Regions from separate parts of the Homo sapiens genome. Here all the other regions are linked to region 4. Evidence: promoter capture Hi-C in 16 types of primary human blood cells and fetal thymus (Javierre and others, 2016). All regions are on one chromosome and are shown on one strand. Each heading gives the region's core, a stretch centred on a gene start or on the middle of the fragment in contact. The rest is flanking DNA. Distances are from core to core; before and after follow the strand shown. Region 1 has its middle 22 kb from the start of MIR3130-1. Region 2 overlaps FASTKD2 (FAST kinase domains 2). Region 3 overlaps PIKFYVE (phosphoinositide kinase, FYVE-type zinc finger containing). Region 4 holds the start of FZD5 (frizzled class receptor 5).

Evidence for each region. The method cuts DNA at HindIII sites, captures the fragments that hold promoters and counts their contacts. A CHiCAGO score of 5 or more calls a contact.
Region 1: a contact is called between a fragment that was not itself captured here and the fragment with the promoter of FZD5 in region 4, in 1 of 17 cell types (non-activated CD4 T cells). The highest score is 5.4, in non-activated CD4 T cells.
Region 2: a fragment that was not itself captured here is called in contact with the fragment with the promoter of FZD5 in region 4 in 1 of 17 cell types (total B cells); the score reaches 5.2 in total B cells.
Region 3: a contact is called between a fragment that was not itself captured here and the fragment with the promoter of FZD5 in region 4, in 1 of 17 cell types (M0 macrophages). The highest score is 5.0, in M0 macrophages.

The regions. Positions count from the first base shown.
Region 1 is chr2:206,801,811-206,809,490 of GRCh38, reverse strand. No RefSeq gene overlaps it. Among named protein-coding and RNA genes, the nearest start is that of MIR3130-1, 22 kb to the right of the region's middle. RefSeq lists an enhancer at 1,931-2,758. The HindIII fragment of the contact is 265 bases long and covers 3,208-3,472 here.
Region 2 is chr2:206,783,219-206,790,563 of GRCh38, reverse strand. It overlaps FASTKD2 (FAST kinase domains 2), which reads right to left. Exons shown (of 12, transcript NM_001136193.2): 8 at 3,665-3,831; 9 at 2,409-2,627; 10 at 1,661-1,745. It overlaps MIR3130-1 (microRNA 3130-1), which reads left to right and starts at 7,256; the gene lies at 7,256-7,330. It overlaps MIR3130-2 (microRNA 3130-2), which reads right to left and starts at 7,330; the gene lies at 7,256-7,330. The HindIII fragment of the contact is 5,023 bases long and covers 1-4,552 here.
Region 3 is chr2:208,308,234-208,315,724 of GRCh38, reverse strand. PIKFYVE (phosphoinositide kinase, FYVE-type zinc finger containing) reads right to left here. Exons shown (of 42, transcript NM_015040.4): 13 at 3,430-3,489; 14 at 1,302-1,431; 15 at 352-532. Among named protein-coding and RNA genes, the nearest start is that of PIKFYVE, 46 kb to the right of the region's middle. The HindIII fragment of the contact is 3,644 bases long and covers 1-3,635 here.
Region 4 is chr2:207,768,656-207,775,482 of GRCh38, reverse strand. It overlaps FZD5 (frizzled class receptor 5), which reads left to right and starts at 5,577. Exons shown (of 2, transcript NM_003468.4): 1 at 5,577-6,218; 2 at 6,489-6,827. The coding sequence starts at 6,744. RefSeq lists silencers at 2,745-3,220, 5,277-5,956, 6,297-6,356, 6,767-6,826 and enhancers at 3,692-4,512, 4,677-4,726. The HindIII fragment of the contact is 9,976 bases long and covers 1-6,827 here.

The DNA of each region.
Region 1 (7,680 bases), core at 2,091-4,590, 960 kb after region 4:
TACCTGTCCTAAAACCAGACAAGCCTTACAAGTTAGTTCAGGATCTGCGCCTTAGCAACCAAATTGTTTTGCCTATCCACCCCGTGGTGCCAAACCCATATACTCTCCTATCCTCAATACCTCCCTCTACAACCCATTATTCTGTTCTGGATCTCAAACATGCTTTCTTTACTATTCCTTTGCATCCCAGCCTCTCTTCGCTTTCACTTGGACTGACCCTGACACCCATCAAGCTCAGCAAATTACCTAGGCTGTACTGCCGCAAAGCTCACAGACAGCCCCATTACTTCAATCAAGCCCAAATTTCTTCCTCATCTGTTACCTATCTCGGCATAATTCTCATAAAAACACACGTGCTCTCCCTGCCAATCGTGTCCGACTAATCTCTCAAACCCCAGCACCTTCTACAAAACAACAACTCCTTTCCTTCCTAGGCATGGTTAGCGCGGTCAGAATTCTTACACAAGAGCCAGGACCACACCCTGTAGCCTTTCTGTCCAAACAACTTGACCTTACTGTTTTAGCCTAGCCCTCATGTCTGCAAGCAGCGGCTGCCACTGCTTTAATACTTTTAGAGGCCCTTAAAATCACAAACTATGCTCAACTCACTCTCTACAGTTCTCATAACTTCCAAAATCTATTTTCTTCCTCATACCTGACGCATATACTTTCTGCTTCCCGGCTCCTTCAGCTATACTCACTCTTCGTTGAGTCTCCCACAATTACCGTTGTTCCTGCCCCAGACTTCAATCCGGCCTCCCACATTATTCCTGATACCACACCTGACCCCATGACTGTATCTCTCTGATCCACCTGACATTCACCCCATTTCCCCAGATTTTCTTCTTTCCTGTTCCTCACCCTAATCATGCTTGATTTATTGATGGCGGTTCCACCAGACCTAATCGCCACACACCAGCAAAGGCAGGTTATACTATAGTACAAGCCACTAGCCCGCCTCTTAGAACCTCTCATTTCCTTTCCATCGTGGAAATCTATCCTCAAGGAAATAACTTCTCAGTGTTCCATCTGCTATTCTACTACTCCTCAGGGATTATTCTGGCCCCCTCCCTTCCCTACACATCAAGCTCGAGGATTTGCCCCACCCAGGACTGGCAAATTAGCTTTACTCAACATGCCCTGAGTCAGGAAACTAAAATACCTCTTAGTCTAAATAGACACTTTCACTGAATAAGTAAAGGCCTTTCCTACAGGGTCTGAGAAGGCCACTGCAGTCATTTCTTCCCTTCTGTCAGACATAATTCCTCAGTTTAGCCTTCCCACCTCAATACAGTCTGATAACAGATGAGCCTTTATTAGTCAAATCAGCCAAGCAGTTTTTCAGGCTCTTAGTATTCAGTGAAACCTTTATATCCCTTACGGTCCTCCGTCTTCAAGAAAAGTAGAATGGACTGAAGGTCTTTTAAAAACACACCTCACCAAGCTCAGCCACCAAAAAGGACTGGACAATACTTTTACCACTTTCCCTTCTCAGAATTCAGGCCTGTCCTCGGAATGCTACAGGGTACAGCCCATTTAAGCTCCTGTATAGACGCTCCTTTTTATTAGGCCCCAGTCTCATTCCAGACACCAGACCAACTTAGACTGTGCCTACCTCCCCAAAAAAAAACTTGTCATACTCCTATTTTCTGTCTAGTCATACTCCTATTCACCGTTCTCAACTACTCATACATGACCTGCTCTTGTTTACACTGCCAGTTTACACTGTTTCTCCAAGCCATCACAGCTGATATCTCCTGGTGCTGTCCCCAAACTGCCACTCTTAACTCTTGAAGTAAATAAATAATCTTTGCTGGCAGGACTATGCTGAATCTCCTTAAGCACTCTCCAATCAGATATCCTGAGTCGTCCCAATTCTTAGACCTTTTATACCTGTTTTTCTCCTTCTGTTATTCCATTTAGTTTTTCAATTCATACAAAACCGTATCCAGGCCATCACCAATCATTCTATACGACAAATGTTTCTTCTAACAACCCCACAATATCACCCCTTACCACAAGACCTCCCTTCAGCTTAATCTCTCCCACTCTAGGTTCCCACGCCGCCCCTAATCCCGCTTGAAGCAGCCCTGAGAAACATCGCCCATTCTCTCTCCATACCACCCCCCCAAAATTTTCACCGCCCCAAAACTTCAACACTATTTTGTTTTATTTTTTTTATTAATATAAGAAGGCAGGAATGTCAGGCCTCTGAGCCCAAGCCAAGCCATCGCATCCCCTGTGACTTGCAGGTATACGCCCAGATGGCCTGAAGTAACTGAAGAATCACAAAAGAAGTGAATATGCCCTGCCCCGCCTTAACTGATGACATTCCACCACAAAAGAAGTGTAAATGGCCGGTCCTTGCCTTAACTGATGACATTACCTTGTGAAAGTCCTTTTCCTGGCTCATCCTGACTCAAAAATCACCCCCACTGAGCACCTTGCGACCCCCCACTCCTGCCTGTCAGAGAACAAACCCCCTTTGACTGTAATTTTCCTTTACCTACCCAAATCCTATAAAACGGCCCCACCCTTATCTCCCTTCTCTGACTCTTTTCTGACTCAGCCCGCCTGCACCCAGGTGAAATAAACAGCCATGTTGCTCACACAAAGCCTGTTTGGTGGTCTCTTCACACGGACGCGTGTGAAAACCAACATGGAGAAACCCCGTCTCTACTAAAAATACAAAATTAGTCGGGCATGGTGGTGCACGCCTGTAATCCCAGCTACTCAGGAGGCTGAGGCAGGAGAATCTCTTGAATCCGGGAGGCGGAGGTTGCGGTGAGCTGAGATCACACCATTGCACTCCAGCCTGGGCAACAAGAGCAAAAGAAACTCTGTCTAAAAACAAACAAAAAAGAGGAGTCCTGAATTGTTTAAATAAGGGAGAAGAATAACATTGATAACATTGTCAGATCTGGGTTTTAGGCAGAACCTTTTTATGGGTAGCAGAGACGACCAAAACAAGTACAAGTAGTCAATCAAAAGTCACCGATATGTCCAACAAGAGAGCCTGCTCTCCCCAGGACAGAGTGAAAGCCCAGTGGCCTCACAGGCACGAGTGTCTGGGAGCACTGCAGGAAGGAAGTCAGAATCCACTGGACTCCACAACTTCCTGATGAGTGAGAAAAATTCTGGAAAACTGTCAGCATTCTCTCAGAAGGTGAGCATACCGATTGCAGAGTATTTCTACCTTTCCAAGCTTGGCAATAGTACAAAAATGAGGTCGATTCTCTTCACTCTGTGTAACTCACACCACCAGATGCTGATGCCCTTAGACTCTTTCACAGCTACAGTTCCCCAAATCATTTATATCCAGAGGTCAGGCATATGGAGCTCATTAAATTCCATACAGCAACATTGTAACCATGTGAAACTTTTTGTTTGCAGTGCAATTTAATGTTGAATTTGATTTATGAGGCACTGCACATTCTTAGTCCTAGGATGACAGCATACACTTCTACAAGCTTAAGTCATGGTTTGGGGCAAGGGGGAAGGCCTTTGACCAGATGTTGGAATTGGAAATCTGGGCTTATGCTAAGCATTTGCGAAGAAGGGAGAGCACCACATCTTAGAGAAGGTCTATCCCAACTTGACTGTTATATCACTGAGGAAACCAAGACCTAGAGAATTTCTTTTCCTTTTTCTTTTCTTTTCTCTCTTTTTTTTTTTTTTGAGACAGGGTCTCCCTCTCTTGCCCAGGCTGGAGTGCAGTGGTGCGATCATGGCTCGCTACAGCTTCAACCTCCCAGCCTCGAGCAATCCTCCCACCTCAGCCACCTGAGTAGCTGGGATTACAGATGTATGCCACCAAGTCCAGCTAATTTTTGTATTTTTTTTGTAGAGACAGGGTTTCACGATGTTGTCCAGGCTGGTCTCGAACCCTTGGGCTCAAGCAATCTGCCCACCTCTCAAAGTGCTGGAATAACAGGCATCCTAGAGAATTTAAATGACAGAGGCAGTGGCTGGAACCCAGGTCTCCTGATTCTCAGCCCAGTGGCCCTCCTTCTCTCTCCCTTGCCTCTCTACTATTCAAAATACAAAAATGAAGAGAAAATGGGCCTTTCTTATTCATGCGGAAATTCATTCCAACTTGACAGAAAGGTACCCATGTAAAATGTATTGTTAACTTCATATCCTAGTATATAAATAAGAGAAAATCAATAAAGCATTTGTTTGAAAATGACTTGCTTTCTGTTTGGTTGGTACAAAGTTATATCATATATGATATATGGCTCTGGAATCAAATCTAAAAATTTAAATTACTTGCTCAAAGCCACATGGCTGATAAGTCTAAGTCTGAATTTTTTCATCTATAAAGTGGGCATTAATAATACTTACCCCAAAGTTGAAGTGTTTCATTTAATCAACCTTTGAGGAAAATGCTTAAAAGATAGTGGCTATTGTTGTATTTTATGTGGTATCTGTTGGTTTGGGCTTCAAATACTCTTCCCGGGAGACATGCCGTACACTTATTCCCATGATGCTGTCATTGTTCAAAATATTTGGATGCACTTTTCTTCTGGAACTGCCTTCTGAGTTAGTTCTTATCTGAAGAGAAAAATTAACTCTTCATGCCTATATTTAATCAAAAGGAATGTAACTTAGTTTTATCAACTTCATTCACCAAAGCTAGCTGGGAGGTACTTTTAACCATTTGTTTAAACCAAAGCCAGATACAAAAGATGAAGATTTGCCATGATTGAGAATTTGCCCACAAAATTTTGCTTCCTTAAGTGAAGGGGATACATATTTTACTTGCTGGACCGAGCTCAGAAACCTTGGGAAAGTCATAAGCCACGGAACCAAACCCTGTTCCAGAGCTGAGAAGGTGGAAAACGGGTGTGTGGATGACTCAAGGTCAGCCCTTGGGAAGCTGGAATTCTCTGGAACTTCTGAGAAAGAAAGACAGCCTCTCAGAAACAATTACATGGGAATTTTCACAAGCTGGGAAGATCCCTGTAGCTCTAACCAGGATTTGTTCTCATTCTGTGGGAGGAATGGAAGGAAAAAGAAGTCTTTGAGAGCCCTAAGCTCCTGAACTTGAATGCAAAGCAGGCTTTGGAAGTCAGAAGAGCACTGGGCCACTCCTATCTCGTCCTTGTTCAGGATAAATGTACCCCCTATACCATGCGTTTCCCCCAACACACACCACACACACACACACACACACACACACACACACACACACACACACACACACACCACTAAAGAATAGACTTCCTGCCTCTGTGCTCTACCAGAAACTTTCAGCATCTAGGGTTAGCATCTTGCCTTCCATTTGCACCTCAAACATTTCATTCTTCACGTTGTTATCATTATCACCCTATCATTACACTGCTGGTTAATCATGATTAAAACAATAAACAAATAATTTTTCCCTGGTGAGCATAAATAATTGCAGATGAATACATATTGTTCGGGCCCATGTAACATTATATGCTATTACAGACAGTATGAGAGGATGTTTTATTGTAAGAGATAATTTTTCCTAATTGTAATGTTTACTCCCTTCAGATTCTAACCTTCTGAAGGCCCAACAAAGTCACCTAGAGGGAGTTTGCAGCTCTTGCCTGCAGTTTAGGGAAAAGTGGCTTTTCTACTTGGTGATAACTCTAAAGTGAAAATGTGAAACCAAGTGGAAGAGGCCAGGGGGTGCTTTTTCTACCAGATGTTAAAAGAAAAAGAACACGCAGGATCTAAACTCTAGAGTGAGCCTCACTGCTGGGGGTGACAGAGCAAGAAGAAATCCAGGGGTTCATTCGATTAACTTGGAAGGCTCTTACTAGGGGACACTAGTTTATTGAACAGGCTGGGTCAGTAGCTCCAGCAGGCTGGAAACAGCTCCATCTTCTTCCCTCCCTTGCCCATCACACTGGCTCTGCCAGCTCTCCCTTCCCACCTCAGAGAGGCCATCTCCGGCATATGCCAGAGTATTTTTGGTTGCACATGGCTATTAGCAGAGCCTCATTTTAAGGTATTAAAAAGCTCATCACCTGATCTATTCTCAAAATATGCAGCTCTCACCCAATCTAAGATTCCTTCCTTTCTTCCAGCTCAGTAATGAGCAGCAGGGGGAGGAGGCTGTGGAATCTTCTTTTGCTGTTTGCCCCCCTTGCTCTGTTTTCTGCTCCTCCTGCCCCGCTCACTGTGCTGCCTCTGGCATCTCCAGGGCCAGGTGGGGAGGAGGGACTAGAGGTAAATGGGTCTATTCACTGGTGACCTTGCAGTCTGCGAGGATGCCCTTTGTGTGCTAGATGCTCAAGTGCTGGCTCCTCCTCACATGAGTGACTTTTGTGGGTTCTTAAGAGACACCCCTACTCCCACCTCTCTTTCCATGGCGTGTCTTTCTTACACCACAGCATTCCCTGACCTGACCCCCACAAGGCACTCTCAGGCTGACTGTGAAGACCCCATACAGCCTCTTTTTGCTGAGATTTCTGAGCTTTGGCAGGACGTCCTCTAGGACAGGTGCCTTTCAGGATGACTCAAGCCTGCTAGTTTCTTCAGCATTCGTTTAATCCACAGGAAATATTATGCATCCATGCCATCCCTTCTCCCCTGCAAAACTTGGAAGCCAAAAGCCTTCTTACAGCCACCTGTTTTTGCTCTGCCATCAGCAGCAGCTCCAGGCAGCCTTCTGCCTTTGGGCTTTTCCAGGCAAGAGTCAGGCTTCTATCTCCAGTCACCTTCCCACACCTCCTACTCTCACCTCGCACTCCCACCCCCGACCAATGTTTGAAGGGTCTACATCAAGCTCTCAAAGGAACTTGGAGTCCAGGCTTCTGGGTGTCACTTCATGAGTTGTGCCTCTACCCCACTGAGTGAACAAATCTAAGCCACCGAACATACCCTGTGGGATTGGGGTTATGCCCCCACCCTTCCTCTCCATACACTGGGCCCCATGCATGGCAGGTGGCTCTGTTAAAGATTACTGACCATTTTTCTCTTGAGACTATTGTAGCTTTTACAGCGCTAAAAATTTTAAGCATAACACCCTTCTCTACCATCATCTTAGGCAATTTACAGAGATAAATTTATGATTTTGCATCTATAGCACATGAAGTATGGATTTTTAAAGATTCATTAGAATATATAATTCTCACATAAAAACATTTATACTCATAAACAGTATTTCCATAAAGATGATCTCATTAGATATAAAGTTTATCTCTGGTGAATTAAAGTTAATCCTGAAAATCTTGTCAACCACACATAATATATGGTACCTAATGTATCTGATACATTCTGAAACAGATAAGTGGATGAAATATTTTTAAAGCACCACATCTAGTAAGGCAGCAGAGAATTAGAAACGGATTTTATTTCTTGTTCTTCAATATAGTAATTGGTGACCTTGAGAAATGCCATTTAACCTTTTCATGTCTCAATTTTCTCATCTATAAATAGATATAATCATCACAAAGACCCGCTGTGAGCAATAGATGAGATAATCTTGAGAGCTCTAAAGCTCTACATATAACAGAAAGGCATTATTGGGATTAGGGCAGAGGATCTGCAGCTCTGCTGTTGCCTTGAACAATTTCCATGATTCTGTGACTCACTTTTACTACCTGCAAAATAGACACCGGAAGGCGTCTCTCCAGTTTTCCTTAGAAGGCAGAGTCTGTATAAGAGAAAAAAGCTGATTTCAGGGTCCAGCAGATTTAATTAGCT
Region 2 (7,345 bases), core at 792-3,291, 980 kb after region 4:
AAAAATAAACAAAACAAGAACAGTTATTGATATTACTATTTAGTCTTGCTGCATTCTTGTTCTCTGGAGATTTCCAAGTTGAGCTCTCCACCGACCACAATCCTTGATATTCCTGTCTTAGTCCTTCACTTCTTTTACTTGGCCTCTGCAGATATTCCACTATACAAGGCTACTTTATAAATCAAAAATATACAACATTATACACAGTTACCTCTCAGTTCCCTTTAAGGATGGCTACATTTTTGAAGAGGAAAATTTTCAGACATGAAAGCACCAATTTTAAGGGTTTTCTGTGTAGTGCTGATTTCTGATCTGAGTATAATTATTTATTCTACCAGTAGTAGTAACGGTGTAAATAATACCAAATAGTAAATGCTCTTCTTACACATATCATCTCCCAGAGAAAGCAGCATTTAAAAAACAGAAATAGGAGTTTAAATACAAGAAAGAAAACACCAAGAGAAAGGCAAGACTGTTAAAATAAAATCTGTAAATATAACGAAAATGTGGAAGGTGTAATTTGTTTTTTCATTGTTCCTGGCACTTTGGAAATACTAAGTTTACTGGGAGAAAAAAAGAAAAAAAAAAGACATTTATATCCTTACTGCCTTCACCTATACTCTGGCTGTTATAAGACAAATTTTATGTTTTTAAAGGAATGCTCACATTCTTCACTTCTCATGACTTTATGCTGAGAACAACTGTTATTTTATTATGCCAGAATAGCGGAGTACCCGAAAAAGAAAACTGATCTTGGAATGAGGTCAGAGAGAAAGCCTCTTCTGAGGGGAGATGGGTAGCACTAATAGGAAAGACAGCGGTTGAAAAGATGGCCAAGAAATAAGCTAGATGCATTCAGAAAGAGGTGAAAGTCACAGAACTGTGTGTGAATGAAGAGGGATGGGCAGATAAGAGCTTGGATCCCTACAGATTTTTTTGTATGTTTCTATCATATTTATGTGTGTGTGTGTGTCCAGTGGAGTTAACAGAAGATACAAGTTCCTTGGGGTCAGGATCCATGTAGCAGAGCTTTTACATAAAGGGTAACTGACCCACGGGTGTGTGCAATGATGGCATGATCTTATGCATCTACTGAAGAGGCAGGATGTTCTCTCATGGTATAGCATCATATTTCTCCCCAGAGACACTCTATTTGTAATGTGTGAGCCAAAGAAACAACTTAGGATTAGCTTCAATGTGCTCTAACCCATACAAATACAGTTTAATTAAAAAACTACGGTTTCTCTACCTCTGGAAAAGTCTTGGTGGTAGAGCAAAATATTTATTGGGTATTTGATTTTTGTAGAAGCCTCGAGTCTTTATTCTTTATGATCACTATTATATTATCTTGTCCAAAGTCTACACTGCATTGATAGTTTCAATTATATTAATATTGTTTTATTGAACTATAGCTTCAAAACCTAATTTTAAAAAAATGTCTGTCTCATTAAATGACCAATACTGTAGTCCATTGTATTCAACCATAACGTCCACATTTACACTTTCTAAGGAGTACATTGATGGATGACAAGTCTCTTGGTGTGCTGCAGGCTCCATACAAACATCAAGTCTTAGATTTACTACTGCTATTTAATATGAAGTCTTTTAGAATTAGGATTTTAATTCAGAAAGCCCAGCAAATGAAATATATGTAAGCAACCTTTGAATATCTGTAGCAGAAGTTGTATCCACATCAGAAAGTGGTAGCACTTGATTCCTGTTAGTGTCCATTCTGATTTCAAAATCTGAAAGGAAAGAATTGATATTAATTTTTCAAACATTCCTCCAAGTGACTTTCTTTTTCTTTTCTTTTCCTTTTTTTTTTTTTTTTTGAGATGTGGTCTCGCTCTGTCATCCAGGCTGGAGTGCAGTAGTGTGATCTCAGCTCACTGCAGCAACTTCCCAGGTTCAAGCAATCCTTTTACCCCACCCTGTTGAGTAGCTGGGACTACAGGGGCATGCCATCACGCCCATCTAAGTTTTGTATTTTTTTGGTAGAGACAGGATTTTACCATTTGGTCAGGCTGGTCTTGAACTCCTGAGCTCCAGTGATCCACCTGCCTCGGCCTCTCCACATGCTAGGATTACAGGCGTGTGCCACCGTGACCAGCCCCAAGTGATTTTCTGTTTCAAAATGTTTAATAGTACTACCAATAATGATAATAGCAGTAGCTAAAATATATTGAGAGCTAACCATGTGTCAGATACTAGTCTTGGGATTTTAGACACATAAAAATGTGTAGAATTTCATTTATTGGTCACAAGAATTTTATGAGGCAAGAATCAGGCCAGTTCCAGAGGCAATGCTGCACTACACTAAACTGCTGCCACAAATACCTATTTTTTTGGTCAGAAAAAAAGGAAAATAAATACAATAAAATGAAAGGAAATCATATAATGTCCCATACCAATATGATAATTGTGTGGCAAGTGCACATCCTTTGAGAAGTGTCCTTCACCTCCCAGAAGGCTGCTCAGCACCTCTGCCACCTTTGCATTTGTATGTGACGATGGCAGCTCCCGCGGCAGCTGTGGGAGTGACAAGGCTATGTCCCTCAGATAGACAGTATCATCAAGTTTTAGACAAGTATCCAAAGTATGCAGCTTGTAAGCATTCTTCATGTCATCTAAAAGATGAAAAAGAGAGTATATCATTAAGAAGAAATAAATGCAACATTAAAAAACTATATTAGTATATATTTAGTAATAGTTATAAAATAATAAATATATACATAAATGCACTTGTATTTCTAATTATCTCTTTCTTATCACAAGGACTCTCTCTTTGTCTCCCTGGTTTCCACAGGGTCTAAATCAAAGCCCTGCACTTGATAATGTTTTAAGGCTTCAAATATCTTTAGAGGTCATTTAGTCTAAACTCCTCAATTTATGGATAAGGAAATGCCCAGGAAAGTTAAAAAGCCTCGTAATTAAGGCAAAGTTGGAACTAGAATCCAGGTTTCCAAGGTTCAAGGCTGTTTCTCCATTATTACACTGCCTGAAAAACCAGCACGTGGTATTATTGACTGACTCTCTACAACTCAACTTTGGGATTTTATAACATTTATTTATTTATGTTTTAATTCTGAACTACTCTATTCTCAGACACATCGTCAAATTTTGTACATCTACCTGAATATTGCTTTGCCTTATTTAATACTAAAGACTAAAAGTCAACAGTTAATTTGGTTCCAAGAGTAAATGAACTAATTAATTTGGTGGCTATTTGGTTTCTTGATCTAACAGGTGTTCCCTCATCACAGGCCAGGAGTGACCAAGTGTTTACAGCTGCAAAAATTGACTTAGGTTGGCTTCAAATGTGATAAGTAAGGATTAGGAATTAAAACAGCTCTGATCAAAGCATAAAGAACAGCCTGAACAGTTAGCCTTTGTATAGAAGGATAGAGTATAAATAAAAGGAATAATGATGCATTCCTTATTTTTTTCTACATGTAGGACTTGTCATTAAAGAAGGGTCTGTAGGTTTGCTGCTTTGAAGCACTATCCTTTGACTTCACCATTATCAGCCCTTTCCACAGCAACACCTGCTCTGCAAATTTCAACTAACACTGCTCCAACTAAGACCCCATTCAGAGTCATATGGTAGCTAGTGGTAGTGCAGAATTGGTCACAATTGGTGACCAATTCTGCACTAACATCCTACCTGATGTCAGCAGCTCACTGATGATGTCTTTTTGCAGAAGCTGATTAAAAGGAGCCAGGGGAAAGTAATTCATCAAGCAAAATGAATATACTGCATCCAATAAGTTTTCAGAAGAAATAGTGTGAAGATAACCAGTCAGAGCACTAGCCATAACTTCCACGAACTGTCTGGGGAACAAAGAAAAGTCAGTTTCCCAACATATACAGAAGGCCAATATCTGTAACGATTCCAAAGAAAAGAGATAAGAAAATCAGCCTTGCAAGTAAGTATCCACACATCATTCTGGACAGTTGGTTATCTCATAATAAGTGTATACATTCAATAAATGTTGGCTATTGCTGTATGTCTTGCACGAGACAAACATTTTATAGACTTTAACTCATTTAACTCACACTAAAAAACTCCATGGGTATTACTATTATTCTCCTCATTTAAAAAAATGGGTAAACAGGCTTAGAGATTGAGTAACTTGTCTAAGAACACACAGACAAGGAAGTAGCAAAGGCAGTATTAGAACATAAGGTGTCAGGCTCCAGAACCTTTTCATAATTATGCTAGATTTTCTATAACGCCTGGACCACCACTACAGTTTTATAACCAACTAAAATTATCTAGTTATCAATACTATGGGTTAAAAGAACTGCAAGCCTAATCCTACCACCCACAGCTAATGGTACACAGTATAACGTGGTTAAGCACAAATGAAGACAGAAAAGATCAAAATCAGGGGCAGTCGCTTGCCCAGAGTGACACCACTAATAAATGGTAGATACCCTTTGAACACACGTCAATCTGATTCTCAGGGCATATGATACATATAGTTATATAAAAAAAGAAATACATGCAAAGTACTGTGATCTCGCAGAGGAAAGAAAATAAACAGAAGCTTTTGGGAGGAGAATTTGAATAAGTGGAAAAGATGGAATAAGGGAAGAAGATTTGAGCACAGCCCTGAAAGCACATGCTACTTGCCTGATAGTGAATAACTGGTGAGATGAAGGTACAGAGGAGTGTTTCTTAACAGCTGGGGCAAATATGCCTGGACACAAGCCCTTGTTAACAATGAGACTGAAATCAACTGAGAGGTCCATGGGTAGGGGAAGAAGTGTTGGGGAGGATGAAGGGCTGTGATAAGGCCAGGAAAACGATAGGAATTATGATGAAATGGGAGGAATATAACAGATCATATACGCAATAGCAAGGCAGCACGTCTGAAATTAGTACTGACTGCTTTTGGAACATGCAGTGGGATGCGGGGGCAGGGGATGGTGTGGACAAGGAAGTTGGGAGCCTGGGTAATGATCCCCCCTCTGGTCTTCTCTTGCCCCACTCCTCACCCTGTACCTCATGCTTCAGCAGCCCAAACTGTGTGCTGTTCCCTGCATGTGCTCTGCTGTTTCTTTCCTCCAGGTCTTGCATATAGAGGGCCTTTCACTTGGAATGTTCTTTCCTGCTTATCTTTCCATGGTAAAACCCCATCTCTCCATCTTTTAAGATCAGCTCAGATACCAACCCCTCCAGGCAACACTGCCTGATATCCCCTGACCCTCCTCTTCACCAGGCTGGCATCCTGATATATCCTTCCTCTATTTCCAAATATCCTAGATGATATGGTTTGGCTGTGTCCCCACCCAAATCTCATTTTGAATTGTAGCTCCTATAATTCCCTTGTGTTGTGAGGGACCCAGTGGTAGATAGCTGAATCATGGGGGTGGTTTCCCCCATACTCTTCTTGTGGTAGTCAATAAGTCTCACGAGATCTGATAGTTTTATAAGGGGAAACCCCTTTTGCTTGGCTGTCTCTCTTGTCTGCTGCCCTGTGAGATGTGCCTTTCATCTTCTGCCATGATTGTGGGGCCTCCCCAGCCATGTGGAACTGTGAGTCCATTAAACCTCTTTCTTTTGTAAAGTGCCCAGTCTCGGGTATGTCTTTATCAGCTGCGTGAAAACAGACTAATATGCTAGATCACTCGAATTTTCATGCTATATTTAACTGCCAATTTACATATCTACCTTACCCATTACACAGAATCCTCTGGCAAGAAGGACTGTCTTATTCATCTTTCTCCTAAGTGTCCAGGTGCTTGGCAAATGCTGACTAAACGAACAAATAAACTTTGATGAGGAAGACAGGAGGACGAGCTTGTCATTGGAAAACGATGAGTCAAGAAAAATAGCTGACTTCCAGAATTACTGAACTTGAGACACTTCTGGGATGTGCAGTGACCATATGCAACCCACAGAGACTCAGGTCTGGAGTTAAGGAGCACACTAATGACCACAGATGCAAATGTGGGATTATCCATAAGGTGGTAAATACAGATCAAGAAGAGAAGAAACCAAAGGACCAAAACAACAGAGCTTAAACGTTACATATTTGTTCCTTGGGTTCAAAGCCCAGCAAGATACTCTGGATTTAACACCCTCTCCCCGATGGGCCATCATAAATGAAATAATGATTAATGTATAGCATGTGGGTATACAATAAGCCAGAATTCCTACCACTCTCCTATCTAACCATCTCTTCTAGTCAACTCTCTTCCCAAATACTTTGAGTTATTCTGCTTCCAAAACCTTTGCTACTCCAGATAAGTTGCCATCTTCCTTTCTCCTTCCTCCATAAAGCACTTACTTGGTGCCTACCATGTACTGCCTTCCTCTGGATATACAACAGAGTTGTTCTCATAAATGGTCTAGGAAGAGCAGGGAATACAAACTTCTTTTTTTATAGCCTTCAAAATACCAAATCCAGGCAATTGTACATTCATGGGCATTCAGGAAATGGTGACTAATTAATCTTGCTATATCTGCCATATTGCCCCTACTTCTCCTTTGGAGAAATGTTGAGGTGGGAGGCTTAGAATTAGGTAAGGGTTTCTCAATCTCAGCACTACTAACATCCGGGGCTGGATAATTCCTTATTGTGAGGGGCTATCTTCTGCATAGTAGGATGTTAGCGGCACCCCTGGCCTCTGTCCACTAGAGGCCAGTAGCACAGACCTCCCTCCTGTTGTGGCAACTAAAAACCATCTCCATACCTTGCCAAATGTCCCCTGGGAGGCAAAATCATCCCTGTTTGAAAACCACTAGGTTAAATGAAAGCAGAATAGACAGACAAAAAGACAACATTCATGATTCTCCTCCTGTACTAATTCTACTACTGCCATTTTATTAAATGTCCTCCCAGCCTTTGTTACCTTTGTTATCCCCCCTCTATTTTCAATGTAACAATTTTGTTGGAACAAGTTATCTCTCAGGTTGCCTGGAGTCACCTGAAAAACTCTTACCCGCCCAGTACTTACTCTCTTAATCCCTCTGGGGCTGTTTCTGGAGTTTTAATTACCACTTAGCTTGATATTATTTGTCTAGAAAGTACAAGGCATCAATGGGAGCCAGCCTCAGAAGAAAATGAAGCCAGGGGAGTAAAGGAAGATTGAATTTGGGAGATATTTTTCGACCTTTATTAAATGTCTACTCTTTGGCAGGTCCTGTACTAAGTTCAGAAAAACAGGCAGCTGGGTCGGACTCCGGAGAGCTTACCAACTGAGGAGCAGAGACAGACTTACTGACACAACAAATGATGTGACACAACTTGTCATGTCTTACCCAGTCTCCGGTGCAGCCTGTTGTCAAGGCTGCACCGGAGACTGGGTAAGACATGACAAGCACAGGGACTCTGAC
Region 3 (7,491 bases), core at 564-3,063, 540 kb before region 4:
TAAAGCAAATTACCCACTGCTTTTCCTCCAAACAGTGATCACAATCTGTGAGAACAGGCTTTCTCATAGCTGACTTGTCAAGAAGAGGAAGCAAGAAAGGAAGAACCTATCTCTGTTTGGGTTCCCAACTCATCTCCGATATAACTCATCCTTTCCATTGACCTTTCACTTCCTATGCGTGGCTTCCATGACTCCTAAGTGCGCTGCTAACAAAGCAGACAGCAAAACCTCCTACTCCTCACCTAGCACCCCTCAGGGTAATGACTCTTTTCAGATTACCATTAAGACAAAAATTACAATCAGTCCTGCCTCATCAGTTCCTAGCATTAGTAAAACATTAGCAGAGCTCACTTTTTTGATGTGGACAAACTGACGGATATCCATGTCATCATCCTGGTTCTTGACATCAGGTCGGACTGTCTGAACAACCTGGCAGACCAATGACACGATGATGTCCCTCCAAGATGATGACAGTGAGTCACTATGGAGCAACTGCTGGAGTAGTGCCATCATGTGGTTATGATTAGCTGAACTACAAAAATATTATAAGAAAGAAGTTTGCATAGTTAATACTGCCAGAGACAATAATTCTGATGATAAAACAAACAGCCTACAAAGAAATAAACATTTCAATTACGGCTCACAGATAAGATTTTCTAGGTCAATATCATTCTTTCATTATATCTGTACCTTAAGGATTTTGCATATAAATGAAATCTGAATATCTTCCACTAAGAAGTCCCCTGCAATTGACTGAAATGAAATTTTAACACGTAAAATGGGGACAGACAAGCACAGTTTGGGGCTTTTGTTTTTGTTTTTTTTCTCTGAGACGAAGTCTTGCTCTGTTGCCTAGGTTGGAGTGCAGTGGCGCGATCTCAGCTCACTGCAACCTCCGCCTCTTGAGTTCAAGCAATCCTCCTGTCTCAGCCTCTGAGTAGTTGGGATTACAGGCCAGCGCCACCACGCCTGGCTAATTTTTGTATTATTAGTAGAGACGGGGTTTTACCATGTTGGCCAGGCTGGTCTCAACCTTCTGAGCTTGTGATCCTCCCGCCTCAGCCTCCCAAAGTGCTGGGATTACAGGCGTGAGCCACTGCACCCAGCCGGGGCTCTTGGTTTTATAAGAAATTTAATCACAAGTCAAAATAGACTGTATTTCCTAAGTAACCTTAGTATTTTTTTACTTTCTAAGGAAAAAGAAAAAGACCTCCCTTTTTAAGAGGAATGATGCATATGCTTATCAAGTCACTGAAGATAATAAAAGTGAAAAATTAAAATTAAAAATTTCATTGCCTTACAGCAACCTCTCCATGGCTTGTTTCTCCCCATTCTCCTCCCTCAGGAGCTCCAGGTTGTTATGATGCCAGCCCAAAGGTGTGAAAGGCAGCTCTTTGGATTTTTCCTCTACTCGGCGATTAAATAAGGATTCTAAGTACAATATAAAATAAGAAGTTATTACTTCATTGTCCTGTTTTATACCATCTACTCATATATTTAGAAATTGCCCTTTGTCTTTATAAATGTTTTAAGTTAGCCAACATAAATTATTGGTGTAAAAAGGCAAGAACATGTAATAAACATATAAATAAAATGCATAAGAAAATACTTACAAATACATAAAATACACTAAAAATACAGAAATGCAAGAATTAAGAAGAGCAGTAATTGGCAACAGCCAAAATCAGAAACAGAACTGTGAAAATCAAATGTACGTAACTAAGACTCTCAAGCCAATAATTATAAGCACAGCTTCTGAAAAGCAAATAAAATGAAACTTTTGCTTCTCCTTTTAATTTTTAAAAACGAGGGTGTTAATTTCCCCTTTAAAATCACAAACTGGGCCGCGCGTGGTAGCTCACGCCTGTAATTCCAACACTTTGGGAGGCCGAGGTGGGCAGATCACCTGAGGTCAGGAGTTCGAGACCAGCCTGGCCAACATGGCGAAACTCCATCTCTGCTAAAAACACAAAAATTAGCTGGGCGTGTTGGCACACGCCTGTAATCCCAGCTACAAGGGAGGCTGAGGCAGGAGAATCACTTGAACCTAGGAGGCAGAGATTGCAGTGAGCCAAGATCGCACCACTGCACTCCAACCTGAGTGACAGAGCGAGACTCCATCTCAAAAAAAAAAAAAAAAAAATCACAAACTGAAAACTGCATTCAACAGAAATCTGAATGCTGGCAAAAGAACACATGATAGCGAGAGTGATGAATTTTCAAGAAAGAAGCTCAGCTCAGATATCACAAAACAACAGATGACAGTGTAGAAAGTCTATTCAGACAATCCTCAATAGTGTTTCTCTTTCAATATTGGCACAGGGGTTTTTTAACAAAATTTTAGCAAGACAGACTCAAAAACATAAATATTAAAACATAATAAATAGCATTTATGTAGAATTTGTGTAAAATCTTTAAATTTTTTAAAGGATGAATGAAAATAGATAAGACAAAAAATAAATAATAAATGCTTAACAAAAAAATATGTTCACTAAATAACTGTTGAATAATCTGACCAAATAAGTGGAAAGAAAAGAAGTGGGAAATGCTTACAAAAATTCTCTAACCTGTCCCCTCTTAAAAGCAAAACAAACAAACAAAAAAACTTCCACCAAACAGCCCAGCAGATTACACAGTAAAGTATATGTCCATGACATGTGAAGTACAAGAATTGCACATTTCAATTACATAAAGGGCCACTCTGTAAACTTCTAGCCGAACCAGATGCTTGGAGATGAATTTAGAAGCACTGCCAAGCTATCAGATAAGCTGCAGTGGCTCCTTGTACCCGCTTGCCTTCTCTCTTTGATCTGAAACCGTGGGAGCCAAGAAGGAAGAGAAATTTTCTCCCATTATCTGAGGCCTAACCAGTGGAGTACTATGGACTAAGAATGTCTTTACTCTAGGAAGCTAAGCTAAGCTAAGTAGGGAAGGAATAGGAGAAGGCTAATCTCCTTTTGTGTCCAAAAGAAATTTATCATCAGAGTTAGTTCTTTAACCTCTACTGCCTGCTTCTCTTCCTCACTCCACAGGGCAAGCAGCATCCTTAACTGGAGATCTGCCTGTGGGCTTTTTGACAAATTTGACAATCCTTGATGATATTTATATCAATACTTAATATTATATTCACAATACAGTTAAGTGTAAACTATGTCTTTAAAAGAATTAAGTTCAAATTCTACTTAAAAGTTTTTAAACAATTACTTTTCACATCAGAGACCTCCTTCTCGCAAACCAAGTCCAAGTTTACATTCTTGGTTCTCAACATTCTCTAAATCATTATATATATTAAAAACTGTGTTCCCATGATACCACCATAATCAAATATATTTTCAGCACCTTCTCTGTGCTAATCAATGTGCTAAGCCCTAAGTATATCCTCATGAAAAAAAGAGACACCATTCCACATACAGCTTTTTATAAAATTACCTTTGATGAAAGCGTCACTTATTGAGAGCTGTTGTCCTCCAGTGTCAGAAATCAAATACTCTGCATACCAGGGAGACAACAGAGAGGAGGAACAAAAGTAGAGACATATGACTATAACATGTCAGCATAATTATATAGAGAATACGCCCACACACAAAATATTACTCATACTAAACCCATCACTGCCCGGCAAATTCAAGAAAGCTTTGGGTAAAAATGCCTCTTTATACTTGTTCTATGCACTTCATACTAAACTTAAGCAGACTTGCATTAATAACACAATAGAGCCGTGAAAACAATTCTCCTTAATTCAAATGTCAGATAGAGAAATGTTTTTCTCTTACCAAAACCAACCGGTTTATGAAAATTAAATCTTCAGATACTTGTACGACCATCCTAAAAGATTACAGTTCTTTTCACATGTAACTTGATGATTTAACAAATAATCACTTTGCCTATGCACAAAGCAGTTCATACAGAACCCACCTGATAAAACAATATAAACTTTTTTCAAATTTCAGAATATAAGCTATAAAACAAATTAATACAGAAGTGACATTGGCAGGAATAAAGATAAAACTCATCAGTATTTGTATTAGTTCCAAATAAGTGTTTTTGTTTTTCAAAAATTATATCAAACACTGCCAAATTTTTGCTAGACATTAACTGAACACACTCTGAATGCTTTTAATATATTAAATACTTTTCTTACAAGTGAAACTTACTCTTTACTTCCCCGTGAACTTTCTCTAGGTCTGTGACCAAGCATAGCTCAAATGAGGTTCTTTCCACTATGCAAATTAAAACATGATGCATGTAAACTCCTTTACGGTAAAGGATCTCCACAAAATTTTCTCCAAGTACATTTATAAACAACTGGGCTTTAAAAGTTACTATGTTTATAAGCCAATATGCTCATCCTTCCAACCAGGAAACAAAGAAAATATTTTATTTAGAAAGTTCAAGTGCACTATGCCAAATACAATAAAATCGAGTATGTGGGCAAGATAGATGTTACACTTTATTTCTACTCTTCCCTCACAGGAATGAGTAACACCAAATCCTATTAGTTCAATTAATGTATTGTTCTTTACCAGCCTTCTCACACTAAAGCTTAATTGTATCTATATGAGACTCCAGAAATGGTGGATTTTCCCCATTTAGTTATGAAAAAAATTCAAACCTACAGAAAATGCTGTATACCATCCACCTGAGTTCAACAATTGTTAAGGATTTGCCATATATGTGTATGTTTCTTCCCCCCGATCATTCAAAGTTACACACATCATGACACTTTACCACTAGGACATCAGCACAACTCTCATAAAAATAAAGGTATTCTTCTCTATAGCCACAAAATTATTTACATATTTGAGAAAATTAACAATGTCTTAATAGCACAGAATTAGCCCATACTCAAGTTTATCCAACTGTCTCCAAAATGTTTTTAATCCACAGTTTTTCTTCTTAAGCCTCGATGCAATCAAGTTCACACATGGCATTTGGTTCCTGTATCTCTTCATTCTCTTTTAATCTAGAACAGATCTCCTGTCTTTTTTTCTTTTCATAACATGAATTTAAAAGAACCCAGGTCAAATGTTCTGTGCAATGTCCCACATTCGGAGTACAATCCATTGTTTTCTCATGGTGTGTTTAACTTGCTCCTCTATCCCATGTTTTCCTATACACGGAAAACTACATCTAGAGATTTACGGAAGCCGTGATTTTCACCTTCTTCTCTAGGTTTTACTTGCTAACTTTCCAAGAATAGTTCAGAATCCTGCTTGTAATACATAATAAAATATATTTTAACTGTACAATTCTCCAAGACCAATAATGAAAAATTAAGCCAGTTTTACGAGCTTCTGAAAATAGGGTTTTCTCACTTCAGACAGAAAGCATAAGTAGTATTTTTTAAAGTACAGATATTTCAACCAATTTTATAAATCCAATTTTCCTCAGCCTGAAACAATATAGGACAATCCATAAGAAAATATTTAATAAGTACTACCTTTAATTTCAATGTAAAGATAAAAACCATTCCCATTTGTATTTATACAAAGGGAATGAAAACCAGAGGCAAAAGAATTCTATTATTTTTTCACGTAACTACCAGTCTCCCTGGAAATCTTTATTTTCTGATAATCAGTGTTCATCTTGACTATAACACTCAGCAAACTATTACGCTTCAACTTCACAAGAAAAAATGTAAAAAGAATAACTCGTTAGTATGTTAAAAACTAAGAGAGAACTGTGAAAGCCAGTAATATTTATTAAGAGACTTTTAAAGTCTTCAAATTATAAGACTGCAAATGACCTAAGAGGTCAATTTAATAATTATCTTCTTCCTAATGCTGGAACCTCCTCTGTAATATTCTCACTGAGTAGGCTAAAGGATTATAATTTCTTTTTAATTCTAGATCTAGATTTTTCAGTTCACAGATTTAGAATTAAAAGAAAACTTAGAAGTCCCCAAGTCTATATAACGCATCACCCAATGCAGGCATCTGTCCTCAATAACCATGACAGGTGGACATTCAGACACAACCTGGACACTTACCATGCACAGTGGCAAAAGTTCACTACTCCCAACTACTGAATCTAGTTCTTCCTTCAGCCATATGCAAAATAAATATAATTTCTTTCAGGTACTCTTCAGATACCTAAAGGAAACACCACGTCTTTTTTCCATTTTAAATAGTCCAGCTTTCCTTAGCATGGTTTTCAGATGTCTTAGGATCCTGGCAACCTCGTTCTATTCATAAATGAGAACTGAACACAAAACAGTAAATTGGATCCTCATTCTAGACATTATATGGCCACTAATGAAATCTATTATTGCCCTAGGGAGTGCCAGGGAGTGCGGGGTTGGCACATCACACTATTAAGTTTGCAAATAACTAAAACTTAGATCTTTATCACACAAATTATTAAGAGTGACTTTCTCCAAAGTACTAATAGTAAACATGTTAAGCCTTATTCTTTTATGTTTAACTGTGTTAACTTTCATCTTGTTAGTCTCAATCTATTGCTTGAGAAAATAAAGATCTTTAAATGTCAATTCTGCTATCCAACACGCTAGCCATTCTTTCCAGATTTTAATTATTTGTGGACCTAAAAAAACATTAAAAGTGCTGACCAAAAAAAAAAGTGAACAACTCTAAATATAGAGTCAAGTCCCTATAACATAACCTAGGAGCATCCACTTCCTGTTGACATCAAATTATTAATTATCCTTTCAATATTTTGTACAACAAGCTACAAATCCACGTGTTAATACTAGTAGTGGGCCGGGTGCGGTGGCTCACGCCTGTAATCCCAGCACTTTGGGAGGCCTAGGTTGGCGGACTGCCTGAGATCAGGAGTTAGAGACCAGCCTGACCAACAGGGTGAAACCCTGTCTCTACTAAAAATACAAAAATTAGCCGGGCATGGTGGCAGGAGCCTGTAATCCCAGCTACTTGGGAGGCTAAGACAGGAGAATCACTTTAACCCGGAAGGCGGAGGTTGCAGTGAGCCAAGACCAGGCCATTGCACTCCAGCCTGGACAATAAGAGCAAAATTTCGTCTCAAAAAAAAAAAAAAACCAACTACTAGTGTTATCATAAGCTCTTACATTCACCAGATACACTACACTCTTTGTGTTTTTCATATTAAAAGCTCATACTAAGTAGAATGGTGGTTACCAGAGGTTGAGGGAGTGAAGGGAATGGGGAGATGCTAGTCAAAGGGTAAAAAGTTTCATTCAGACAGGAGGAATAAGTTTTTGAGATATACTGTACAGCATGATGACTACAGTTAATAATAGTGTATTGTATATTTCAAAATTGCTAAGAGTAAATTTCAAAGGTTCTCACCACTAAGAATAATATGGAATTTTTTTTCTTTTTTTTTTTAGATAAAGTCTCACTCTGTCACCGAGGCTGGACTGCAGTGGCAAAATCATCGCTCACTGCAGCCTCAACCTGCCAAGCTCAAGCAATCCTCCCACCTCAGCCTCCCAAATAGCTGGGACCACAGGCGCACACCACCACACCCGGCTAATTTTTTTGTATTTTTTGT
Region 4 (6,827 bases), core at 4,328-6,827:
GAACCTTAGAAGAAACTAATAATAATAGCCAAGACCTATAGAGACTCAGGGGCTAGACATGGTTCTAAGCTCTTTACCATATAAATATACTTACTCCTCACTATAGCTCTGGGAGGTAGATAACTATTTCTAACTCTATTTTACAGAGAAGTAAGGGGGCCTGGAGCTGTTAGGTGACTTGCCCGAGGTTGCCTAGCTTGTAAAGGCAGAGCCAAAATTTGGACTTAGGCTTCATTTAACAGGACCTGGTCAACCTCAGAGGGAGAGTTCATCTGAATTCAAGGACTGAATGCCAGTTGCTAAAATTGAAAAAGTTAGTATCAGTTGTCATTCACTCATTTATTTATTTCACAAATATTTATTGAAGGTGTCTAGATGTAACATAATATTCCAGGCTTGATTATCAAGATATTGAATAGTATACATACAAAGGATACCTGTTCATTCATTCCTACAGCATTGAACTCTCAAGAATCTCAACAAAATAATGCATGTATAAACAACATAAATGTAGAAAGTTTTTTTTTTTTTTTGAAGACAGAATCTTGCTCTGTCGCCCAGGCTGGAGTGCAGTGGCGCAATCTTGGCTCACTGCAACCTCTGCCTCCTGGGTTCAAGAAATTCTCCTGCTTCAGCCTCCTGAGTAGCTGGTACTACAGGCGCCCGCCACCATGCCTGGCTACTTTTTTGTATTTTAGTAGAGACAGAGTTTCACCACGTTGCCCAGGCTGGTCTCGAACTCCTGAGCTCAGGCAATCTGCCCGCCTCAGCCTCCCAAAGGGCTAGGATTACAAGCATGAGCCATTGTGCCCAGCCAAATCTAGAAAGTTTTAAAATGATGTAACTGTTCCCTGATGGCAAAAATCCAAAACCAATACTTCAAAACTTATGGAATGTCACACGCCTATTAGATGGAATATTTAGCATTATCCTTTGTATTTTCATCAATTAATAAACACAATTTGGACAATAATTCCAGTTGAATTTCATGAGTTTGGCTTCATCAAATTATGTTTTGTATGGCAGTAGTGTCTTCAACTCAGAAATTTGACATTTGGCGAATGGATGGATTAATCGATAGATGGACAGATACATGAGTGAATAAATAGACAAGGATGCTTAACAATGTTCTAAATGCTTAAACATTGCATCTTTAAAAAAATTTGGCCAGGCACAGTGGCTCACACATGTAATCCTAGCACTTCTGGAAGCTGAGGTGGGAGGATTGCCTGAGTCCAGGAGTTCAAGACCAGCTTCAGCAACATAGTGAGACCTGGTCTCTACAAAAAGTTTTTAAAAAATTAGCTGAGCATGGTGATGCATGCCTGTAGTCCCAGCTACTCAGAAGGCTGAGGTGGATCACTTGAGCCAAGGAGGCAGAGGTTGCAGTGAGCCAAGATCGTGCCACTGCATTCTAGCCTGGGTGACAGAGCACGACCCTGTCCCCCCAACCAAAAAAAAAAAAAAAAAATTCAGTGTTTTCTAGTTTGTTGGGTAATAAAGTATGACTCAGGTGAAAATTGTGAGATATTTTATTTTTTAATTGACAAATAACAATTGTATATATTTATGATGTACCACATGATGTTCTGACATATGTATACATTCTAGAATGGGTAAATTGAGCTAATTAACATATGCATTACCTCTACATATTTTTCATTATTTTTGTGTGGTGAGAACACTTAAAATCTACTCTCTTAGCAATTTTCATTTACAGTATGTTGTTACTGAACTGTCATCATCACGGTGTGTGAAAGTTTTTGACTCCATAGACTAAATAAATAACTTCAAGCAAGTCATCAAAGTCATTATAGCACCAGTTTCTTCATCTGAGGATTAAACGACGTCTAGCACCCTGCCTAATACATGTTAAACAGCCAGCATATTTTAAAGTGCCTTCAAAATATAGACAAAAAGCAACACAATACAATACAAAAACATATACGATATAAAATGTCTTGCTCTCTCCTTTTTTTTTTTTTTTTTTTTTTTTTTAGAGATGAGGTCTCACTATATTGCCAAGGCTCGTCTTGAACTCCTGGGCCCTAGTGATCTTCCTGCCTCAGCTTCCCAAAGCGTTGAAATTACTGGCATGAGCCACCTTGCCCAGCTGAAATAAGTTTCTTTCCATAAAGTTCTCTGCTATCACTATTATTATTAGAGATCTCCAAGTAAAATTAAGATTTTGCTGTTGATGAAGAAAAGGTTTACAAACCAGTAGATAACATTGTTTTCTTCAGAACCTTTACTGGAAAAGGGTCCTGATTCAGACCCCAAGAGAGGGTTTTTGGATCTCATGCAAGAAAGAATTCCGGGCGAATCCATAGAGTAAAGTGAAAGCAAGTTTGGTAAGAAAGGGCCGAGCGAGGTGGTTCATGCTTGTAATCCAGCACCTTGAGAGTCCGACCGAGGCGGGCGGATCACTTGAGGCCAGGAGTTCCAGACCAGCCTGGTGAACATGGCGAAACCCCGACTCTACTAAAAATGCAAAAAATAGCAGGGTGTTGTGGCGTAGGCCTGTAATCCCAGCTTCCTGGGAGGCTGAGGCACAAGAATTGCTTGAACCTAGGAGGCAGAGGTTGCAGTGAGACGAGCTTGCACCCCCACTGCACTCCAGCCTGGGCGTCAGAGCAAGACTGTCAAAAAAAAAAAAAAAAAAAAAAAAAAAGAAGGAAAGGAATAAAGAATGGCTACTCCATAGACAGAGCAGCGGCATGGGCCGCCGGTTGCCCATTTTTATGGTTATTTCTTGATCATATGCTAAACAAAGGGTGGATTATTCATGAGTTTCCGGGAAAGGGGCGGGCAATTCCCGGAACTGAGGGTTCCTCCCCCTCTTAGACCATACAGGGTAACTTCCTGACGGTTGCCATGGCATCTGTAAAATGTAAACTGCTTTGGCATTGGTGGGAGTGTCTTTTAGCATGCTAATGTATTATAATTAAGTTACAATAAGCAGTGAGGACGACCAGAGGTCACTCTCCTGGCCATCTTGGTTTTGCTGGGTTTTTGCCGGCTTCTTTACTGCGCCCTGTTTTATCAGCAAGGTCTTTATGGCCTGTATCTTGTGCTGACCTCCTATCTCACCCTGTTGACTTAGAATGTCTTCACCTCCTGGGAATGCAGCCCAGTAGGTCTCAGCCTTATTTTACCCAGTCCCTATCCAAGATGGAGTCGCTCTGGTTCAAATGCCTCTGACAGAACCGTGTGAAATAACACAAATATTCTGGCTAAATTCCAGTGTGAGTGATTAACATTCTCCAACTTCAAATAATTTTTATTATTAGCCAACACTTGTCCATCCCCAGTAATACACACGTTGCATAAAGAGCACAGAATGAGATGGGCCTCCCTTGGCATGTTCATAGTCTGCACATACTTTCCACTGAGGGCTTCCCTTTCTTGCTCACTGCTATGCCCACAGCTTTTCAACTCCCACTATTTTCAACCCTGGGATGCTTCCTGACCCAGAGTGGCAAGTAATTCCAAAACACAAGAGATAAAATATGAACACCTGTAGAATTCCAGAGAAAGAAAGATGTAAGGTATATTTATTCATTTATTTAATTATGTATTTTAGAGTTGGGGGTCTTGCTATGTTGCTCAGGCTGGTCTGCAAACTCCTGGGTTCAAGCCATCCTCCCACCTCAGCCTCCCAAAGTGTTAGGATTACAGGCGTGAGCTATGGCGCCCGGCCTTTTAAACGTTTATTAATAGTTTTGATATCCGCGAAGTGATTGATATTTGTTCCTTTTTAACTTGGAGGCTGGGATTAACACACGTGTTCTTCATTATTGCCCACAAAGCGTTGTTGATACGCAGGAGGGGAGTGGCACTTCCGCAATTTATTCTTCCAACCTGTGCCAATGGGATCCAGCACAGGAGATGGACAGTAACCCGCGGTTGATCTGGATCTAGTCCAGTTAGTCCAGTCCCTATCCCTTCAAGTGTCCCCAGGCCCTCTTGCCTATTTTCGCCCTTTGCCCAGTGGAAGGAAAAGTTTGGGGAGAAGGAAAAAATTTAAACCCTCTTCCTAGGCGTGTGAATGTATTTCAAGTATGCTAAATACCTCAGTCTTCCAATCTAATTACAACACATAGAAAAGAGGCATTTTTAGGACATTTAAAACTTGTAGCATAATTGCGCAACTGAAGAGCGCCGCCGTGTCCCCGCCATCGGTGCGCCCTCCGACCCCCCGCGGCGCGCAAGTGCGCGGCTTAGCAGCAGGCAGCCGGGGACGGAAGGGCACGGGGAGGCCGGCGCCCTGCCCAGCACAGAACCCTGGGTCGGTATCGCTTCTCTCTGCGGGCGACTTCGGAACTGCCTGGGATTATAAACCTCGACCAATAAAGGACTCACATCTTTCTGGGTCTTCTAAAGGCAGAAAGAAATCCATTTTCTTGTCACAACAAGATTTTGTTAAGAGATGCAAAAGTAAAGGTCGAAGCCAGGGAGGCTGCGATAGTATGGGGGGAGGGGCGGCTACGATGGTGAGTGCCGCTGACCAACTACCTGGGTTCGAATCCCAGGGTTGCCATTTGGGCGGCTACTATGTGCCAGGTGATCGGAATACGGAGGTGAACTTGCTTGCCGAGGTCGCCCTTTCTTGGGGGAACTATGATTAGCTCGGTTGCCTTGGCCAAGTCTCAGTCTCGGTTTCTTCACCTGTAGGAAGTACCTGCCTCAGAATTGTTGTAAGGAGTGAGATCTTGTCTTAAGATGTAAACGGGCCGGGCGCGGTGGCTCACACCTGTAATCCCAGCATTTTGGGAGGCCGAGGCGGGCAGATCACGGTGTCAGGAGTTCGAGAACAGCCTTACATGGTGAAAGCCCGTCTCTACCAAAAATACAAAAATTAGCTGGGCGTGGTGGCGGGCGCCAGTAATCCCAGCTACGCAGGAGGCTGAGGCAGGATAATCGCTTGAACCCGGGAGACAGAGGTTGCAGTGAGCCGAGATCGCGCCACTGCACTCCAGCCTGGGAGACAGAACAACTCGTCTCAAAAAAAAAAAAAAAAAAAAAGGATGTAACCGATTAACACTTTGTTGGGCACACAGTAAAGGGCTCAGTAAGTATCCTCTCTTCTTTCACACAGTTCCAAGACAGCTCGGAAGGGAGACAGCCACGCCTAAGAGTGATTCCTTGAGCAGTTCTTTCAAAGAAGCACTGAACTCTGTAAGGACGCTTAGCTGCAGGCAGAAAGGGCAGGGGCCCTGGGAGCAAAGGTGCATAAGCCAGGAAGTTACAGGAGCGAGTCCTGCACCCAGGGCGCGGGCAGAGAACTCCGGAGGGACTTCTGGCAAGGGCTTCCCGCCCGGGTGCCCAGAGCGGCATGATTAGCATTCGCCCCGCCCCCATCTCCTCCAGGCCCGCGATTGGTCAGCGCTCCTTGGCTGCCCGCTCCTGGCGGGGCCAGAGGGCGCCGGGGGAAAGGCCGAGCCCGCGGGGCAGTGGGCGGGGACGCGCGGAGAGCTTGGCGAGGCGGCCCACCAACCGCGCCCGGGCCTGAGGGGGCGGAGCCGGGGCGGGGCTTCCCGGCGGGCATTAGAAGCAGGTGACCCGGGCGGGGCGGGAGAGGGCAGCCAGCCTGCGGCCGTGAGTCCGCTGTGGTCGCCGCCGCGCGCGGTTCCGTGCTCGCCAGAGGTGGGCGAAAGGGTGCGAGAGCGCGGGGGAGGAGCCGAGCAGGGCACGTCCCGAGAGCGTCGCCACCGCCCCCAGGAGTCCACTGGAGCGCGGAGCCCCCTGCAGGGGAGGAGGCGAGCGGCGGGCGGGACGCGGCGGCCGGCGCTCACCATGCAGTCCCGGCCTGGCCAGCGCCGGCTGCTCGCGGTGCTGTGAGGCGGCGGGGTCCCACGGCCCCCGCCTCCCGCCTTCCTCCCGCCCAGGTGCTGCCAGGCGCGCTCGCCCTCCGTCCGGCTCCCGGCCCCGGGGAGAACGCACGGCCTGCCCCTGCCCGGCTCCGTCTGGATCATGCGGGGGGCTCCCGAGGAGGAGAGGGCGAGTGACCGGCCTGCGCCGCCCCTGTTCTGGGGGCGCCCCCCACTCTGAGTCGCCCCCACCTGCTGCCATGTGCCGCTGCCACGGGTACCCAGCCTGTCGCTAAACTTTCCGGGCGCCAGCCCGGCTCTGAGTCGCGCTTCTCAGCGGAGTGACCCAGGGACGGAGGACCCAGGCTGGCTGGGGACTGTCTGCTCTTCTCGGCGGGATCCGTGGAGGTGAGAACCTTCCCTTTCTCCCTGTTCTTCTCCCGTTTCCTGTGCCCTTTTCCGGGAAGCTGAGGGTTCTGGTCTCCGGGCACTGCCTGAAGGGCCCAGCTTGGAAAGAGAGGGTGGGGGAGTCGGTAGTTTGGTTACAGGAGGCGGAGCGGGGAGGAAAGGAAAGGGGTTAACTTAAGAGATTTGGAGACAGCTCGCGGGGACCGAACTGTTGACGCCTCTCCAACAGGGAGTGGTTGCAATCTTTCTTCTCCCCCTTCTTTTTTAAAGAGTCCTTTCCCTGGAATCCGAGCCCTAACCGTCTCTCCCCAGCCCTATCCGGCGAGGAGCGGAGCGCTGCCAGCGGAGGCAGCGCCTTCCCGAAGCAGTTTATCTTTGGACGGTTTTCTTTAAAGGAAAAAGCAACCAACAGGTTGCCAGCCCCGGCGCCACACACGAGACGCCGGAGGGAGAAGCCCCGGCCCGGATTCCTCTGCCTGTGTGCGTCCCTCGCGGGCTGCTGGAGGCGAGGGGAGGGAGGGGGCGATGGCTCGGCCTGACCCATCCGCGCCGCCCTCGCTGTTGCTGCTGCTCCTAGCGCAGCTGGTGGGCCGGGCGGCCGCCGCGTCC